2 separate regions of the Homo sapiens genome follow, and region 2 is linked to region 1. Evidence: promoter capture Hi-C in human tissues and cell types (Jung and others, 2019). All regions are on one chromosome and are shown on one strand. Each heading gives the region's core, a stretch centred on a gene start or on the middle of the fragment in contact. The rest is flanking DNA. Distances are from core to core; before and after follow the strand shown.

Region 1 (4,472 bases), core at 1,806-4,305:
GGTGGGCGGATCACCTGAGGTCAGAAGTTCGAGACCAGCCTGGCCAACATGGTGAAACCCCATCTCTACTAAAAATACAAAAATTAGCCGGGCATGGTGGTGGGTGCCTGTAGTCCCAGTTACTTGGGAGGCTGAGGCAGGAGAATTGCTTGAACCCAGGAAATGGGGGTTGCAGTGAGCCGAGATCATGCCATTGCACTCCAGCCTGGGCAACAGAGTGAGACTCCGTCTCAAACAAAAGGAAAAGAAAAGAAAAAAAGAGTTGCATTTCGATTTTATAAGTTCCCTTCAGCCAGCTACAGTTATCTACATGTTGCCAGTTGTGTTTCAGTTCTGCCTAGCCCATCTTCTCATCCCTATTGCTCACCTATCTTTTCTTTTTCCTCCTACCCTCCCTCTTTTCTTTCCCTTTCTTTCTGCCTTTCTCTCCTCTCTTTCTTTCTTGCTGGTGTTTATTAAAGCATAGTCCAGACATCATGTCAATTAACTCACTTCCTACAGAGTTTCCTTGAGGCAGGGCCACAAGAGAATGTATGTAGGCTGGGGAAATGATCTCTTATGATTATGTTCTTGACCAAAATAAGGAATTTGTGTTACTGAGATAAGAAACAATAAAGAATTTCCAAAACCTCTTCATAATACCCCAGATATTGTGGACTTTATTTTCTATCTCTATGTCTTCCCCCTAGAGTCTTTCAGGGGTGTCTATGAGAACTTTTTCATCTTCCTTTACTATTAAACTAGTAACAGAATAACAAAAACTTTGGATGTTTATATATCTAAAAAGAGGTGAATATTCTCTTTCTGTTGGTGAAAAGGATTCTCAGGGCATCAGTTTTGAAGTTAAAATTTGACAATGGAAAGTTTGCAGAGATCTTCTATGACAAGAAACCAAACATATCACTGCCTCCCCCCAACCCCTCGCCCAGGCAAACTCCTGAAGCTGATTGTTGTAATGGTTTTAAAGGTGCTTAGGATGAGGACCTAGATCTGAAGCATGGTGCACAGTTGTTTACTGTTCACACAAGTCAGATCTACGAAGGATCAAGTAATTTGGAGGTTTGGTTACTTTCCATTAGTAAACATCATCCAACTAAATTTGGGTAAAATGCCCTCTAAATAAGTCAAGTAGACAGGAGCTTTGAATGAGGGAATTAATTATAGCTGGTGTCTCCAGGAAAAAGAATCCCACTGTGGCATGGAGAATGTAATTAATGGGAGGTAAGTGCCAACAAATCACTCCTTAAAATATTAATGCTATCAAAGAACAGCTGGATAATGAGAGAAACTTGACCCTTGGGGGACCAGCAAAGGTTGCTGCTGCAGCAGAACTTTATGCAGTTATGACGTAATGAAATTCCTCTAAATTTTAACAAAAACTAATATTAAAAGGTGTGGTTCTGGGAAAGTTATTAGCAGTAAACATGTCATAATTTTTATCATCTGATTATAATCACTATATCTCATTTTTGCTGTGTTTCTAAGTGACATTTTCCTGTAATTGCTCAGGATATATATACAATTGAAACAACACTCCTAAAAAACAACTAGAGTTAAAAAAAAGATTAAGTCTGGCAAGACCTTTTTTTTGTAAATAAAAAACCCAATATCTAAGAAATTTCTGCAAAACAATTTCCCATATGCTTAAACTATTTAACTAAAAAACTGTTTCATTGTTTGTTATTGAAAGCTCCAACTTAATTTGTTTTTACTTAATAGCTTCGTATTGTCCTAAGAAATATGTAACTCTAAGAGAGCAATAAAGTTAAATATTTACACGGTCCCACTTAACGTGTGAAATGGACATGTATTTTCAGCAGCCACATAACTAAATGCTAATCCCAATACCTAAAATTAGAAATCAGAAGTAATTATTTAATTGGAATATACTTTAACTTAGATAAAAAAAAAAAAAAAAGAAATCGTTTTAATAGGAGATTTTTAAAAAAGTTTCTCCGGAATCGACTCGGTTCATCAGGAAGCTGCGAACGTGATAAATGCGTTTGACCGCGCACCTTGTGTCGCTGGAGCTGAGAACACTTTGTTCCTTTTGTTTCACTCAACTTGCCGACATCTAACTCAGGGACACGGGTATGCAGCTTGTTTGACAAATAAGCCGAGATACACCGAACATATTCACACATACCAATAGACGATGATTGGAAGTTCAGGATGCAGTCAAAATAAATGCTTGCGTTTGGCCCAGGTTTCACATAACACCAGTTTCATAAGGCACTTAGGCCGCTAACGGAGCAGTGCCCCTGAAAATAGCCCACAGGGGACACATCATTTAAATAAATGTGTTTCTTTCCCTGAACAGAAGTTCAGTTCTGCTCAATTATCATTAATTTTGCTCCTTTATTTCCTTTGCGGGCGTGAACGGAGAAGTCGTGCTCTTTGAGGTTTTGCGAGCTGGCCTTGGCTGGCAGAGGTGACCGGCAATCCTTCAGCCGGCGGAAAAAGTGCGAGTGTGTGTGTGTGTGTGCTTGTGAAAATGTGCCGTTCCTCCCAGAAAAAGTGGAAACGTAGGTGGAAAGCTCAGCACATGTTGGCGACACCTAAAAACCATGTTCTCGGTCCTGAACCTTTAGAAGCGGTATCCCAGGAACGAGTCTGAGTCTGTGCAACAGGGCACAGATGATTCGACAAACTTCAATGACTGCACCGCATTCATGCATTATATCCATTGAAAAGTAAATCCAGCGTCTCCACTCGCGCGCCCACGTGCGTGGATAAACGCGGGAATTCGGCAGCCCTCAACGTCACTCTGCAGAGATTTCCGGGCTGTGAGAGAGTTGGGGTGTGCGGCGGGGGAGGGGAGGGTCTGATATCTTCAGGTTGAGAGTCAAGTCCTGGGGGAGCGGCATGGGCGGGGGTGGCCGGGGGGAGGCGGAGGATGGAGCGCGAACCAGAAAGCGCAGAGGACCCTCGGCCCGCGCCGCACCCGCTGTGATTAGCTCCAGAGGCGCGATCCGGGAGGGCGGACTCTTTCTTAACCCTCATTGTCTCCTCCTCCCTCTTCCTTTTTAAAAGACGCCTTGCGGGCAGAGCTGTCAGCAACCCCGCGGCCGTTTGTACTTGGCCGCGGCGGAGCTGACTCCTGCTCCTGTGACAGATAGGGGCTGGGGCTGAGCGGCCGCCTGTCTGGGGTACTCGCACGTGGGGAACAAATTCTTTTCCTCCGGCTCCTCTCGGGACCCGGCGATCGCCACAGGTTGGGACTCTGTGCGGCGCTGGAGTTGGCAGCCCCGGGCGCTATGGCTCCCTTGAGGAGTGGGGAGGGAGGTGGCCGGGGGGTTGGCGCGCCCCTCGCGCGGGGAGCGCTATGAGCCGGGCGAAGGGCGGCAGCGACAGCCCCAGCAACTGCCTCTGCCGGCGCCTCCCGCAGGCCCTCGCCAACTCGCCCCGCGCACCATGCTGACTCCCGGCCTGCGGAACTCGTAGTGCAGCCCCTGTCGCCTCCCCGGCCCCTGCTATCCCACGCAGGACTGGCTTCGGCCGCCGGGGCCAGCAGCTTGCGACGTGTCCCTGGGGAGGCGGAATCGCTGTGCGCCCTGAGCCCGGGCTCAGCCCTTCGCTTTCCAGCTGCGTCCTGCTCCCGGCCGCCCAGGGAGCCCAGTGGCGATGAGGGCACTGCTGGCGCTTTGCCTTCTCCTTGGCTGGCTGCGCTGGGGCCCGGCGGGCGCCCAGCAGTCCGGAGAGTACTGCCACGGCTGGGTGGACGTGCAGGGCAACTACCACGAGGGCTTCCAGTGCCCAGAGGACTTCGACACGCTGGACGCTACCATCTGCTGCGGCTCCTGCGCGCTCCGCTACTGTTGCGCCGCGGCCGACGCCAGGCTGGAGCAGGGCGGCTGCACCAACGACCGCCGCGAACTGGAGCACCCAGGCATCACTGCGCGTAAGTGCGGGGCCCTCGGGGACATATCCCCGCCCGCCTAACGGCGGCGGCTGCATGTGTGCGCGGGAGGATGCACAGACCCAGGCAGGTCTATGCGCCTTCCTGGGTCTGTGCGCCAGGGGGACGCGGCCGGGTGGGGGAATCAAGGGATGAGTGGGTGGTCGCGTTTCAGATCATGGTCCTCTATTCATTTGCAGTCCCGCTTCCCGCCACTTGCGGTCTCTGCGGGTCGGCCCGCAGGGAAAGTTTGCCAGGGACAGTGAGGAGCGCGGGGCTTGTGCCTGGTAGCCGGGGGGAAGACAGCTGGAGCTCCCGGGAGAAGGGTAGTGCGGGTAAAGCCAGGGTAGACTTGGGTTTTGGTGGAGGGGCCGAGGGTGTCCCATTGCTCGCCCTTGTCACTTCGGGAGCTTCGGGAAGTGCCGAATGCAGGGAATCGCGACTCTTGTCGCGCGCTCATTTGCAGCCCTTCAGGGCTAAGAAACCCCAGTCACTTTTTTTTTCTGTCTTAATGATAGCGTTTCTAAGCCACGGCCCCGTTCTGCAGACTTCCTTTCAATTCTCTGCATCGAAT
Region 2 (4,047 bases), core at 964-3,463, 240 kb before region 1:
TGCCACTTCAGTTCTGACACCATCTACCTGGAGATAGCATCAGATCACACAGGATGAAGGCTCAGTCCCCAAGACTGCCCCCTCCACAGACACCAGTCGCAAGTGCGGGCCTCCGGAACTTCAGACCTACTGGCTTCACGTTGGGGTTCCTATGACCCCCTCTTTGGGTTCAGTTAATTTGCTGGAGCAGCTCACAGAACTCAGGGGAACCGTTACTTACCTTTGCCAGTTTACTATAAAGGATATTCCAAAAGGTATAGATGAAGAAACGTGTAGGGTGAGATATGAGGGAAAAGGCTCAGGGCTTCCATGCCCTGCCTGGGCATGCCACCCTCCAGGAACCTCCACGTGCTCAGCTATCCAGAAGACTTTGGAACCCAGTTCCTTTTGGGTTTTTATAGAAGCTTCATGATGTCAGCATTCCTTCTCCCAGTGTATAGAGTGGGGCCCTCTCTGGCACGGGTATTAAGACCCACAGTCCTGCTTCTCAGAATAGGAGATTTGAAAGAAAAAAAAAAAAAGACCCACAGTCAGAAAGGTGGGGGGAAGATTAAAGTTCAGCCTTGGGGCAGGTGAGAGGAGGGCGGGGCAGAGTTTGCGTTTCCTCAGGCTTGCACCTGAGGCCTAACATACTCAACATTGTCACAAAAGATTGTAACAAGGGCTATGAGAGTTGTGAGCCAGGAACAGTGGATGAAAACCAATATATATCGTAACACTACACCTTTCTATGATGGTTTCTAAGACGTTTTTGGAATCCTTTTAAAGAGTAGAAGAGGACAGTCATCTTTGATCTAATTACCATTTTTTTTTTCACTAATAGAATCCTAGAATCATTAAGACTCTTTTAGTAGCAAGTGACAGAAATCCACTCAAATGGACTTAAGCAAATATGTTTATAGCTTGAATAATGCAGAGATATATCTGCAGGCATGGGTGCTCACATGGTGTTATTAGTAATCTACCCCTGTCCATTCTTGCCTCCAGTTTTCTTTGTGTTGATTCATTCTCTGGCAGGTCTTTCCTTTACAGTGTCTATCTGGCCACCAGCAGTTGTCAACTGTGTGCAAGAGATTATCTCTTTCCCATCAGCTCCAGAATTGACTATTGGCTAATTGGGTCTTGATAATGGATTAGTTTATTTGTCCATTGACCCTTCCAATATTATGACGTTGTGGCTATTTCCCTTCAGAGAACTGAAGAAATTTCCCCAAAGTCACCAAGCAAATCATTGAAGAAGTTAGCCCAATATTCTTCTCTTTATCAGTGTAGCAAATGTACCTTGTCAAGTTTCATAAATTTAACCTTTTATTCTCTATTCTTCACTTTCTTCCAACTCCTAAAGAAACATTCCTCCCAAAGAGCTGAAAGCACCATGGACATAAGTATGAGCTTAAGATATTTAATTTTTTTTTAATTTCATTATTATTATTATTATTGGAGACAGGGTCTCGCTCTGTCACCCAGGCTGGAGTGCAGTGGTGCAAACCTGGCTCACTGAAGCCTTGACCTCCTGGGCTCAGGCAGTCCTCCTGCTTCAGCCTTACATATAGCTGGGATCACAGGTTTCAGCCACCACGCTCAGCTTTTTTTCTTGTTTGTTTGTTTGTTTGTTTGTTTGTTTGTTTTTGGAGAGATAGGGTCTCACTTCATTGCCCAGCGTGGTCTTGAACTCCTGGGCTCAAGTGATCTTCCTGGTTTGGCCTCCCAAAGTGCTGGAATTACAGGCATGAGCCACTGCACCCAGCCACTTGAGATATTTAAGAGAATAAAATTGGATACTAAAGCCAGGAAGAAAAAAGGAGAAAAGAGTTAGGAAGAGAAAGTTGAGAATATACGATAACAGCAAGTCAAACTGTTGGGGATTTAATTCCTAAGAAGAGTTTGCAGTCTTTTCCAGCAAGATCCATTTCCATCCTGGCCACTCTTAACTTTCTCTGGGTACTGTGCTACGACAGGAAATGATCGGTTCATAATGGTTATTGGTGTTTAAGTCAAGGTTTTATTCCATACCATCACAGGAGGGCCACTTCCACAGAGAAGCTTCTGAAATGAGCCACTGAAATATAATCTTAAATATTGGCAACTTGCAGTTTTGTAACATCACACATTATACACTTTATTAGAATTTTTATAAATTAATGCATGCCATTTGCCCCCAGCCAAGAAAGCAGCTGGATTTGTCTGGTGTTCTGGTTGTCTGGAGTATTTCATGGTTTACTAACAAAGCTTCTGTAAGCACTAGTTTTTGGAAACCAATAGAAATATGATTTCGCTTCTAAAATTGTGATAAGTGTCTAACTGACTTATATAAGAAATGTCCAGGCAGCTGGACTTTTTGGATCTGTTTTCTAGGCTAGGAAAGAACAAGGACTTTTATTTTTTTTTAACCTCTTCTTTGGTCTCCAAAAAGTAGCTGGTAACAGACTTTATATATTGCGTGAAGACCAACAGTGATCCTTTAACTTATTGTTTTCAGGTAATTCAAACTTGTGGGTCTTTCTCCCCACCACTCCAGCATCAAAAGTGAATGACTGCAAAGTCAGATTTTTCTTTTCCATAAGGGAAAAGAAAAGGCTGCCATATCACAAACGGAATGGCTTACCCAGAAATTTATTGCCTCAGAGTTCTAGAGGCTACAAATCCAAGATCCAACCAAGATTCAACCAAATGGTGTCAGCAGGATTGGTTCCTTCTGAGGGCCATGAGAAGGAATCCATTCCATGACTCTTTCTTACCCTCTGGTGTTGGTTGGCTAGCAATCTCTGGTGTTCCTCAGTTTGTAGAAATACCACTTCAATCTCCATCTTCATCTTCCATGACATTCTCCCTACGTCCCTGTCTCTGTTCAAATTTCTGTTGTTTCAGCCACCCAGTTTGTGGTACTTCTTTTTTTTTTTTAGATGGAGTTTCACTCTTGCTGCCGAGGCTGGAGTGCAGTGGCGTGATCTTAGCTCACTGCAACCTCCACCTCCTGGGTTCAAGTGATTCTTCTGCCTCAGCCTCCCGAGTAGCTGGGATTACAATTGCCTGCCACCACTCCTGGCTAATTTTTGTATTTTTAGTAGAGATGGGGTTTCACCATGTTGGCCTGGCTGGCCTCGAACTCCTGACTTTAGGTGATCCACCTGCCTCGGCCTCCCAAAGTGCTAGGATTATAGGACTTTGGACATGAGCCACCATGCCCAGCGTGGTACTTATTGCAGCATTAGCAAACTAATACATATACATGGTACTTATTGCAGCATTAGCAAACTAATGCATATACGTGGTACTTATTACGGCATTAGCAAGCTAATACATATGCCATATATGTAGGTGTATGGTATATATACATATATGATAATCATATACCATATGTAGATTATATGATAATCTCTATCAGAATGAGTTATGCCAAAAAGGTCAAGTATTTGATTTTTTTGCAAGTCTATCAGAACTTGTATGATTTCATACATATTGACAGAAGACTTAAATATACACAACAGATATGTACACTTGGGCATGAACAGTGAGTTCTTAGGAGGCCACAGAACAAAGGGCCAATGTGTGGCTATTAAGAATAGGGTCTGCACTTTGGGAGGCTGAGGTGGGCAGATTGCTTGAGCTCAGGAGCTCAGCTAGCCTGGGCAACATGGCAAAACACTGCCTCTACAAAAAATAAAAAAAGTTAGCTGGGCATGGTGACATGCACCTTGGTCCTGGCTACTCGCAGACTGAGATGGGAGGATCACTTGAGCCCAGGAGTCCGAGGCTACAGTGACTTGTGATCACTCCACTGCACACCAGCCTGGGAAACAGAGTGAGACCCTGTCTCAGAAAAAAAAGAACAGGGTCCCTTGCTCATTTCCATCACATCTCTGGAAATGTCCAATATGCCTTAATGAATTCAAGCACATCCCAGGAAATGGTGAAGGACAGTTACATAGGGCTAATGCCTCCAAGCTTTTTCTGACACTACCACAAAAAGCATGGACAGAGAACAAGTTATTCTAGTTGAATCACTCATAAAAATTATTAAAGACATATATGAACATATTTTTAGTC

Evidence for each region. The method cuts DNA at HindIII sites, captures the fragments that hold promoters and counts their contacts. A contact is called where the count stands out against the background at its distance.
Region 2: a fragment that was not itself captured here is called in contact with the fragment with the promoter of SHISA3 in region 1 in 1 of the 25 tissues and cell types used here (H1 embryonic stem cells).

The regions. Positions count from the first base shown.
Region 1 is chr4:42,394,433-42,398,904 of GRCh38, forward strand. SHISA3 (shisa family member 3) reads left to right here and starts at 3,056. Exons shown (of 2, transcript NM_001080505.3): 1 at 3,056-3,901. The coding sequence starts at 3,625. RefSeq lists a silencer at 2,800-2,879 and an enhancer at 3,104-3,993. The HindIII fragment of the contact is 30,120 bases long and covers 1-4,472 here.
Region 2 is chr4:42,159,810-42,163,856 of GRCh38, forward strand. No RefSeq gene overlaps it. Among named protein-coding and RNA genes, the nearest start is that of BEND4, 9.2 kb to the left of the region's middle. The HindIII fragment of the contact is 4,206 bases long and covers 111-4,047 here.